Regions from separate parts of the Homo sapiens genome. Here region 2 is linked to region 1. Evidence: promoter capture Hi-C in 16 types of primary human blood cells and fetal thymus (Javierre and others, 2016). All regions are on one chromosome and are shown on one strand. The core of a region is centred on a gene start or on the middle of the fragment in contact, and the rest is flanking DNA. Distances in the headings are between cores, read along the strand shown. Region 1 holds the start of EXOC5 (exocyst complex component 5). Region 2 holds the start of FKBP3 (FKBP prolyl isomerase 3).

Region 1 (5,429 bases), core at 2,767-5,266:
AACACCAAGCAAGCAAGCAAGCAAACAAACAAACAAAAAACCCAAAAGCAGTTACCCATGTGTAGGTAAATATCACCTACATTCTGATGCATTTTCTTGATTAAGAAAGGGGAAGAATCAGGTAGCACACCAGTAATGGCATGGCATAGCAGGTAAATGCCATTTATTTCTCTAAATCTCTGTATATGAATAGTAGAGATCTCTGGACTAAACTCTAGTCCAATCTCTTATTATCTAGTTTTCCAGAGGGTAATTAAAGTTCTTAAGTATAAAAATTTCACAATTGACTGTGAAGATAAGTTAATCTGGGAACTTACACAACACCCCAATATGTGTTCAATAAATATTTTGTTGGATGACTCAACCTATCATTTCTAATTTATTATATGCTTTTTCTAAAACAGGATTCAAGGCTTAAATGGGCCTACAACTATGGGGTATGATACCGACCTAAGCCAGATGTAAGCTGATGCTATTATTATCTGGAAAGCAAACCTTTAAACCAGAATCTTAACCAAGTTTTGTTATAGGAAATAAGTACTTAGATAGAGAAAACATCATTTGCCTTCTTAAATCTTAAATATTGGCCACTTATTGACACTTATAAAGTGTCAGTGCCTATCTGTGTAGCTCTAACACCTCCCCCAAGAGGTTAGAAAACTGAAAATATAATAAAATTTAACTAAGTCATTCAATGATACAGAATTAAATTATTTGAACACAACTTGCTACCTCCATAAATGTATTGAAAAGCCCATCCAAACATATCTGACTTTTTATTCTGAAATAATATCCTGAACACAGTGAAAAAACATTCTGAAAACTAGGATTTAAGAAACTTATTTACTTAAGCAGTAAAAAGTTCACCTCTATGAAATATTAAGATAAGCTACAAAGCAACAGATATTGTATTGGTACAAGAAAGACAAAGTACTAGAACTGAGACAGACCAACATTTATATGAGGGGACATAACTAACACTACCAGTAGCCTCACAAATTAATGAAGACATGACATACTGCTTAAAAGATGATGTCAGAAAAACTGACCCACACTACAGAGAAAACCGAAATGGGATTCCTACTTAACATCATATCCAAAGATGGACTACATATGGGTTAAAGACCTAAATGTAGCAGATGAAATTATAAAGAGAAGACAATGTAGGAAGATATTTTTGGGAAATATGGGTGAGAAAAAACTTCAACAAATTCCCAAAAGCAATTAACTAGTTTGATTGCATCAAAATTAGTGATTTCTGTTTAACCAAGGGCAACATAAAGTTAATTGACAATGGTAAATTAAAGAAAATATCTGTACTATCTAAAAATGACATAGGACTAATACCAAGAATACAAAACAAACTCCTACAAATTCAGAGGAAAAAATAAGCAACTTTCAAAGAAAAAAAGGACAAGACATGTACAGGCAATTCACAGTAGAGGAAACTTAAAGGACTAACAATCATTGCTACATACAGAAATGCAAACGAAAATAAGATGTTCTTTATTGGCAAAAATTACATGTTAGGAAAGAATGGAGATACGGGAACCCCTTCTTGCTGCTAGTGAGTGCGTAGGTGGCTGAAAGCATTCTGTGGAGCAGATTATTTGGCAGTCTTTAGTCAAAATCGGCATAGACATGCCCCATGGACAGATTTGAGGATGCATACTTTGGCAGTGTTCTTTGGAGGCAAATTTGGGAGAGGTCATCACTAGGTAAAGGGGACAGGTAAATGTGTAGGATGTGAACCATGAGTACTACAGAGCAAGAAGAAACAATGGCCTAGATTTGCACTGTCCAACATAGTAGAACTACCCACATGTGGCTATTTAAACTTAAATAAAAATCAATTAACATTACCCAAAATTAACAATTGAGTTCCTCAGTTATGCTAGCTGCAGCTCAAAAGCTCAATAGGTACTTGTGGCTAGTGGCTACAGTATTAGCCAGTACAGATTAAGAACATTTCTCCTTTCCATCATCATAGAGAATTCTATTGGACATGCTGCCTTAGATGAACACAAAGTATCATGGATGTTTCTTTAAAATAGTGTTGAGAAATGTGACAAATGTAACATTAGGAAGTGAAGTCTAAAGCACACTTAATTATGTAATTTGAAAAATGCATACAATGAAAAAGAGTAACATCGAAGATGTTAAGAGTTATCTGTCAGTGGGAAGGGAACGGCAGTTAGAAATAGGTAACCAAAGGGAATATAAGTAAAATGAGAGATACTTTGTACGGACTGATGCGCCTGGTAAAACCACGTACTAAAGAATATTATTAATCTCCTGTATTTGAGGTCCAACAACAAATGTTGGGGTTAGTGTCAGCCAGAAATCCTGGGGGGAAATGGTAAACTCCAACTCTGATGCCCTCAGGAACAAAAACTGTTAAGGTTGCAAAGAAGGAATTTTTCATATCCCCATTGCCAACCAATTTTCATTTAAAATTAAAATCTTTTTTTTCTGCCTCAATCTCAATTCTACTATGGTACTACTTCACTATAAGCTTTCTTCAGGGAAGAACGAATTGTGACAAAAAAGAACTATCAATGGCCAGAGAATAAAAGGTGAAATAGACCCACTCGATTGCCACCAACATTTTACAATGAGTTACTGTACAATTCCCTTAACAGAGCTATTTTGATTACACAGGGCAAATTCTAATAGTGGGACCAGATCAACTTAACACAATATATGAAATAGTGAATACATTTTTTTGTGTTTCTATTTTCTTCAACAATTAGGAACTGTAAACTGATGATTTCTACCATTGACACATATTAACAAGATAAAAATAAAAGCCTGGGCGGGGCGCGGTGGCTCCTGCCTGTAATCCCAGCACTTTGAGAGCCAAGGCGGGCGGATCACGAGGTCAGGAGATCAAGACTATCCTGGCTAACACGGTGAAACCCCCTCTCTACCAAAAATACAAAAAATTAGCCGGGCGTGGTGGCGGGTGCCTGTAGTCCCAGCTACTCGGGAGGCTGAGGCAGGAGAACGGCATGAACCCGGGAGGCGGAGCTTGCAGTGAGCGGAGATCGCACCACTGCACTCTAGCCTGGGGAACAGAGCGAGACTCCGTCTCAAAAAAATAAAAACAAAAAAATAAAAGTCTGATATAACTTAGCATGGATTTTTCAGTAGAATAAGTTAAAATGTTCTGGAACGATTTTGTCAATGCATGTTGAAAAATCTGAAAATGTTTAGTGCTCAGTAAATTTTCTACCGTTCCCTTAGTCATCTCCATTTTAATTCTAAGCAGACGGAGGTCATTTTAAAACACAATACTAATAGAAAACATATACCGTAAATAATATGTACCAGTCATCAACTCAATTCTCACAACACTGTAAGGTAGGACTATTAAAATCTCCATTTAACAGACGAAACAGAGGTCTGTTAACTGGCTAGCCCAAGGTCACGCAGCTATTCGTGGCAAACCTGGGCCACGAAGCACCACAAAACTATGCTACTTCATCGATCTTCTGATCCATCATCCCTGAGGATTCAGATTTGCATTTACCTGGAGAATCTCACGGTGCCACAAAGTGGAGTTCCCGGTTCGTGGCTTATGAGCCACACTGCCCGCTGCGCCATGGTTAAGTCAGTAAAGCATTAGCTCATCTCATAATTAAGGTCGCCACCGAGGAACAGCGCAGACCGGCTTTCTCAGACAGACTCTTAACAGAAGCCCTGAGGCTCATCCTGCGCCGCATACCGGTCGCGCTCAGCAGAGAGGTTAGCTTTTTTAGGTGAAGTCACTAACGCTTCTGAGTCGCTCTAGGCCAACACACACCACAAAAAGTTCTAAGAACCCCAACCTATAACCTTGAGAAATTTACCTATACCCTGCAACTCCGGTATTTTCTTCCTCTAAATTCTACTTCCGGAATGGTGGCCCGCAAGGATCAAAGTTCCTCATACACGGTAGCGTCGAGCCTTTTTTCGGTTCTTTCGCCGCTCGTTTTATTCGCCGGCCCCTCCCGACAACCTCCCTGGCGCGCGCAGTTCCACTTCCGGCGTATGAGGCGGTGACAATGGGAGCAGCGCGGGCGGCGCCGGGAGGCAGCTGACAAGCGTTTGCGGCTTCGCTTCATGGCCGCTCTCCCGCCCCTCCTGGGATCTGTGGGGAGCTGGGGAGCCCGCAGCGGCCCGGAGCCGGAGCTGGCGAGCCGAGCGGAGACCTGTGCGCCGCGCCTCTGAGGCGCAGCATGTGAAGCGGAGACGGCATCCAGTGGGGGGCGAGCCTCTCAGCCGGCCGGGATGGCTACCACGGCCGAGCTCTTCGAGGTGGGCCCCGGCGGCTCTACAGGGAGTGGCAGGCCCGGGGTTTGCAGGCAGCTGGGTGGGCGGGCCGAGGAGCGGGCGTTTGCTGGCTGCCCAGGAGGAGCCCTCGGGAGAGAGGTGCGAAACAGAAGGGTTGGGGTGGCAGCTCCGTGTCAGCGCGGGCGGAGCGTGAAATGGGGGAGGGGTGCTTGGGGCCGAGGTGGGCTGGGCGGCCGGTCGGCAGAGAGGGGAAGCCGGGTGTCCCAAGGGAGGAGGGTTGCTTTTGTTTGTGGGGGCAAGAGGGAAAGTCTGGAAGGTTCGGGTGTTGGAAGATGTCTACTCCGGATGAGTAGTGGGAAGGGCTGACTCAGGACGAGGAAAGAGAGCCAGGAGCCTCAGGTTGGGCGAGTCTTGTCGCTGGGGTCCTCGCGGGAATAATAGGAGGAAGCCACTTGAGATCGGGACTCTTGGGGGCTTCTCGTTTTGAGTAATTATTCCATTAGTAAGGTTGCAGGTGGCATTCATAGGACTGCCAGTTTAACCTGACATTTGAAAAGGCTGGGACAATTTTTTTTTTTTTGGACAATAAAGGCCTACTTATCTCTTTCGACTGAAGAGAGATAGACTGAAGGGAGGCAAAATTCAAGTGAACACTTTATTTCATGTAATACATAATAATACACTCGAGGCATTTACGTGTATTATAAAATAAAAAAAGTTTATAAAATAAAACGAACACTTCGTTTCATGTATATAATGCACCTTAAGTGTATTATATGCATTTACATGTATTATAAAATCACCTAACTGCAAGCTAGAGAATCCTTAATATGTAATAGTGAGAATACTAATGTCTTTCCTCGAGCGTTTACAGTATCTAAACCTTAAAATTTAATTTCGTGAAGTCCGTTGTAAGAAGCTGTGATAAAAGTTTGAGATAATAGAATAGGAAAACTCTAATTAGGCTACAAAACAATGACACGTATAAAGCATCTCCTTGTGTGAAAGAAATGAAAACGGATAAGAAAAAGGAAAGAAAGACCCCTTTTTTGTGTGTGTGCTTGTGTTTCACATTGAGTAACAAAAGTGTAATAATTGAGAAGACTGTAATCCACAATAGGGAACTTCTCCATAAGTGAAAATGGTATCCTTTT
Region 2 (5,546 bases), core at 1,932-4,431, about 12 Mb after region 1:
CACTGTGTTAGGTATGTGGCATACATTATGTCATTATTTTACCTAGCCGCCAAGAAGAGACACCGCATATCCACTACCAATCTTTATTAATTTCAAAACTCCTTTCATACCCTATTTTAGATCACTGTCCCAACCATGACTAGGCTCTCATGATCTACATCTGACACTAATTATCTGGTTAGTCTTAAAATAGAAGAAAAGAAAAAGAAAACAACAATAACAGCAAAAGGCAGTGAAGACACTGATTTGAATGGATGACAGAAAGTACAGATATTCTTTATCACCATCTGTTCTGAGATAATAGACGTAAAGGCTTTTTATAATAATATTGTCAATAACTTCCATCACTAGTAACTATTCGCCAAAATTCTCTTTAACAGTACAGTTACAATACAAAATACCGTTTAACAAAATTATTACCTGGCAATAAGCATAGTTTCCGAGAGCTTTATGAGCTTCATCAATAACTAAACACTTTATTTCAGCAGCGGGACAAGCTCCTCTAGAAAGGTCATTTACCATGACCTGAGGTGTAAGAAAAAGCACTCTCTTACTGCACCATATTTCCTTCCTGGTGGAAGCTTGTGTAGACCCTGAAAATAAAAGTGACATTCTACATTCTAAACTTCAGACTGTTATCTATAAAATATAAATAGTCTGGCTTTTTCAGAATGCAAACATGCTTTGGTAACATTAAGAGAAAAACAATTTGACAATTCATCGGAATGCTACATTTTAAAGTTCTGGTGTGGTCCAAATATCAAAGCTGGCACTTATCTAGGACTACAACCAAATTGTCTTTAGAAAATTCCTACAAAATGGCATATTTGAAGAGAGGCAAATTCTTCAACTGAGAAATCTTTTTCAGGAAGAATGCCAGGAAATATCATGTTCAGTTACCCATGGGGTATACGCACATAATAGCTTCAAAATACTATGACAAGCTGCAGATATTCTCTGAAGATTGAATAAAGCAACCCTATTCATCAGTTTTGGGCTTGCTGCAAGTAGAGAATGTTTTAAGAGGGAGGGCGTAAGATGCACATGTTGTAGCTTGGGAACTATTCCACATGGGTCAGGAATTCCCAGCTCTTACTTCAAAATTAGTCCAGTCTAAGATACCTGTCATTTCGGCCATGTGGGATTGCGGGATACCCATCACCTGGTAGCAAGCCTCGATCTGCTGTGTCACCAAGGGTTTCGTTGGGGCCATGAAGACCACCTTTCCTGAAGGGAACCAGCGGTAGAAATTGTACATGACCACGGCGGCAATAAAGGTCTTTCCCAGTCCGGTAGGCAGACACACCAGCGTATTGCAAAACAGAGCAGCCCGGGAAATGTGCAGCTGGTAGTCCCGCACTGGGCAATTGGTAGGGTAAATCCACAGGGCGCCCGCGGAGGTGCAGAACCCGCCATTCTCTAGACACAACTGCCGCTCAGCCTCGTACGCCGCGACAAGCAACACATCATCGTCCGACTCCAGCTGAGCCTCCGCTGCTGCTGGCAAAGGCGCCTTGGAGCTGCCAGGGCTCTGAGGTCGCTCAGTTCCGGAGCTGCAACCCGGAGTCCCAGATGATCGGGAGATACTTGAGCCCCACGTCTGAAAAAGCGTTCTTTGCCGTCCGCTCATTAGGCCGACAACCACCGAAGGCTTCTGTCAGATATCCGTAGCAGCAGCAGCTCAACCGCTACGGTTCCGATCCCCATCGGTTTCCTTCGCACAAAACTCTGGAACGAGAAGGCGGGACTAAGGCCAGTTTATCCAGTTGAAAATGCCGCTACTGAGTTTCCGTTGGGAATGATTGGCTGGCTTCCCGGAAACCTTCACAGCCCTGCCGGAGACTCATGCGCATTATTAAGGCGTTACTCTAAATATGGTCCCCGGTGCGGTTCCGGTGTTTTGTTTTAACAAACTCTAAATTTAAGTTCCGTTTCCAATGATTAGATGGCTGGGCGTCATTGCTAACGTGATAAATCACTTAAAATGTTATAATAGAGATTTATTGTAAAATATTACATACCCGGGGACAATGGAATAGCCACCAGTTTGGGAACTTAATGTTATTGAGCGTCTAACGTGCCTCATTCCTTGTACTTTTAAATCAGAATATAAAGTGAAAAGCAAAAATGTGTAGATGGAATAATTTGTCTTATATCTCTATCTGGGCTGAGAAAACAAAATGCCAAGTCTCTTTTTCACCGCGCTGGGAGTGGCAACCCATTATTTTAATATTTTCATTGTTTAAAGGGAAGTGAACGTGGTCTGGTCCAGCTATTCGTCAGAATTTTTTTTTTTAATGCTCCTTGCAAAGCAGAGCTAACTCATAGGCAACATGCCCAGAGTCAGCCTACATTTTTTTAAGTAAGGAGTCCTGATGTTCAACTATTAAATCTTTATTATAGGTAAGAGCATTATAATAAACGTCGGTGTGCAATTATTCCACTCTAACGAAGATTTCTGTCTCAAATAATTCCTGACTTCTCTCTAAACCTGACTTTGAGTAACCTCTGTAAATTTGTTTCCTCGTGTACTGAGAAAAAAATATACATCACAGAGTTACGAGCATTAATAATGTCATTCTCATCAGCAAGTGGCATCCTGAGTGCGGCTTCTTTATAAATTGTTTTATTTGTTAAAGTTTCTGAACTTCGTTTTGGACAAACTTTCTCGTATTTGTATGGGGGGAAGGGGATGGGCAGTTTGTATTTAAGTTTCGGTTGTGTGATCTTTAAAAGGGAAATGGTGGGATATGGGTTTTCGGATCGACAAGGACTGAAGCACTTCAGGTGTGACTTTTTAGGCTAGAACTAGATAAAACGAGATAAGGAGCCTGAATGCTGTTTTCTTTTAACAGGTTATAGACTGGACTTTAAAGGCATAGCTGCCTTAAATGTGGGTAATGGTTGATAAATGTCGCTACCATCAGAGGTCGCTTCACAAGGTGTCTAATTCAGAATCGAAGATCTCTAGCGGTCTTCTACTCAGTCGACTGCAGAGACGACCGCGGTAGGTTTTTCAACCCGGACTCAACAAAGAAGCCCTCATAGCACAGCCTTGACGTCACTCAAAGACAGGCCCCAATCCCGACTGCTAGAGCAGAGGCCCGCCCCTCGACCTCCGTGAGTGGCCCCGCCCCGCCCTAGGGGGCGGGGCGATGCCGAACTGCGGCGGGCTGGCTCAGTAAAGCGGAGGCAGCGGGGGAAGATGGCGGCGGCCGTTCCACAGCGGGCGTGGACCGTGGAGCAGCTGCGCAGTGAGCAGCTGCCCAAGAAGGACATTATCAAGTTTCTGCAGGAACACGGTTCAGATTCGGTACCAGAGGCGTAGGGGCGGCCGGGCTGGTGCGGCTGAGGGACGCCTCACCCCCCTGGAGATGCCCATACATTCCGTATTCCTCTGTGCCCCCGCCCTCGTCTTCCCGCGGCCGGTGGCCTGGAAGGCCGGAGAGGCCCAGCTTGTGCTTTGGTGCCTCGCTCCCGCCTCTCGGGCGTTCTCTACTGGGGCAGGGGAGCAGCTTTATTTCTTGGGGCACACAGGCTGCAATTGTAGAGTTAGAACCTCATTGGGATCCTTGAGTGGGGGTGGAGGCCAGAAAAATAGGAACCCGAGGATATTGGGGGCTAGGGCGGAGAGGCCGAGGAATAGTGGTGTGGATGAGACTCCTGGGAGCGGGGCGCCGGCTACTAGGGAAATGGGAAGGGATGTGAAGATTTCTGTGGGAACGGTGTATCCAACTTGCTTTTCTCAACAGTTTACTAAATACTGAACATTAATGCGTGTGATTTTTAAAAAATCCGTAGGTTGTGGTTTAAGTTTTGATTTAACATATCGACCCTTTAAATGACCTTTTCACCTTTATACTTTAAGGGAGCTACATGCACATTTCTCTTGTGCAGTGGTCTGTCATTGTTATAAACAGACTAAGAAATTTATTTGAAATGCTTTATACTGTAGGCTCTCCATTTGTCAGCATAGTCTCCATCTTAACCATCCGTCTATAGTCAAGTTATTTTTGTTACACTTGTTTTTCCTTTGGAAAATAAGTTCATTCATGCACCTGTTAAATTGCTGAAATAGTTGTGCACGCAGCATTCTCTTACAAGCGGCAGCCTGCTTGTGTTTTCTATACAATTTTTAAAATTCTAAACTTTTCATTTAGAAAAACTGTTTCTGGGTTTTTTTGTTTGTTTGTTTGAGACGGAGTCTCTCTCTGTTGCCCAGGCTGGAGTGCAGTGGCGCGATCTCGGCTCACTGCAACCTCCGCCTCCCGGGTTCAAACGATTCTCCTGCCTCTGCCTCTCGAGTAGCTAGGACTACAGGCGCGTGCCACCACGCCAGGTTAATTTTTTGTATTTTTAATAGAGACGGGATTTCACCGTGTTAGTCAGGATGGTCTCGATCTCCTGACCTCGTGATCCGCCCGCCTCGGCCTCCCAAAGTGCTGGGATTACAGGCGTGAGCCACTATTTCTGGGTTATTTTGAGAAGCTTATATTTTATTTTCATTTTGGGCGGGCGTCATGACAGGGAGATAGAAGAACTCTCCAACTTCCAGTGCCTTCTTCCTTAATTATTATCCTGGCATCCGCATCTTAGATTAATTTAGCAGATATTAATACAACATCTGTAACAAGAACTATTCTCAGTGTTTGGAGGTACAAGGGTGAAAAAGAACATGTGTCGGGGATCTTACCCCATTTTAATGGAACTATTTTCTCTTAAGCCAATTCGTATTTCATCTGAAACAATAGAATAGACATCATTAACATTTAATAATACCTCAGTCATGTACTTCATCCATCATATTCTTATGAAACAAATCATGCCATGTGGAATCGTATGTAAAACTGGGCCACGTGGAAGAATTTCAACAGACTTGGATTATCAAAATGTTTTTATAACATTAATCTTTTAAATGCATAGTCTCGGTCGGTCGTGGTGGCTCATTCCTGTAATCCTAGCACTTTCGGAGGCCAAAGCGGGCGGATCACGAGGTCAGGAGATCGAGACCATCCTGACTAACAGTTGAGGCCAGGCATTGAGGACCAGCCTGGCCAACGTAGCGAAACCTCATTTCTACTAAAAATACAAAAAAAATTAGCTGGGCCTGGTGGTGGGCGCCTCTAATCCCAGCTGTTCGGGAGGCTGAGGCAGGAGAATCGTTTCAACCCAAGAGGGGGAGGTTGCAGTGGGCCGAGATTGGGCCACTGCACTCCAGCCTGGGCGACAGAGCTAGACTCTGTCTCAAAAATTAATAATAATAATCTCCGGTGATCATTAACACTTAGACCTATACTTGACAATAATTATTTTATTAATCATAAGATATCAAAGAGATGTTTATGCTTTTATGCTTTGGGTATTTTCTGGAATCTTTAACAAGAAACCACCAGCATGCTAAAGGTAACTGATTACTTCCGTTTAGTCAACTTTGTCTCCTTTCCCCATCAGCTGTTATTTAGAACATATCTTTGAAAGAAAAAGCAAAAGAAAAAAATACAATAGTGATAGTGTTAGCTGTTAACTGCTAATAATGTTAACTGCTT

Evidence for each region. The method cuts DNA at HindIII sites, captures the fragments that hold promoters and counts their contacts. A CHiCAGO score of 5 or more calls a contact.
Region 2: a contact is called between the fragment with the promoter of FKBP3 here and the fragment with the promoter of EXOC5 in region 1, in 7 of 17 cell types (total B cells, fetal thymus, total CD8 T cells and 4 more). The highest score is 15.7, in total B cells.

The regions. Positions count from the first base shown.
Region 1 is chr14:57,267,492-57,272,920 of GRCh38, reverse strand. It overlaps EXOC5 (exocyst complex component 5), which reads left to right and starts at 4,016. Exons shown (of 18, transcript NM_006544.4): 1 at 4,016-4,299. The coding sequence starts at 4,273. AP5M1 (adaptor related protein complex 5 subunit mu 1) reads right to left here and starts at 3,950. Exons shown (of 8, transcript NM_018229.4): 1 at 3,533-3,950. The coding sequence starts at 3,606. RefSeq lists enhancers at 3,786-3,985, 3,633-4,216 and a silencer at 4,526-4,585. The HindIII fragment of the contact is 4,317 bases long and covers 2,518-5,429 here.
Region 2 is chr14:45,132,116-45,137,661 of GRCh38, reverse strand. It overlaps FKBP3 (FKBP prolyl isomerase 3), which reads left to right and starts at 3,181. Exons shown (of 7, transcript NM_002013.4): 1 at 3,181-3,313. The coding sequence starts at 3,206. FANCM (FA complementation group M) reads right to left here and starts at 1,732. Exons shown (of 23, transcript NM_020937.4): 1 at 1,123-1,732; 2 at 421-593. The coding sequence starts at 1,630. RefSeq lists enhancers at 1,529-1,578, 2,241-3,111, 3,205-3,424, 3,112-3,983 and a silencer at 3,058-3,235. The HindIII fragment of the contact is 3,907 bases long and covers 584-4,490 here.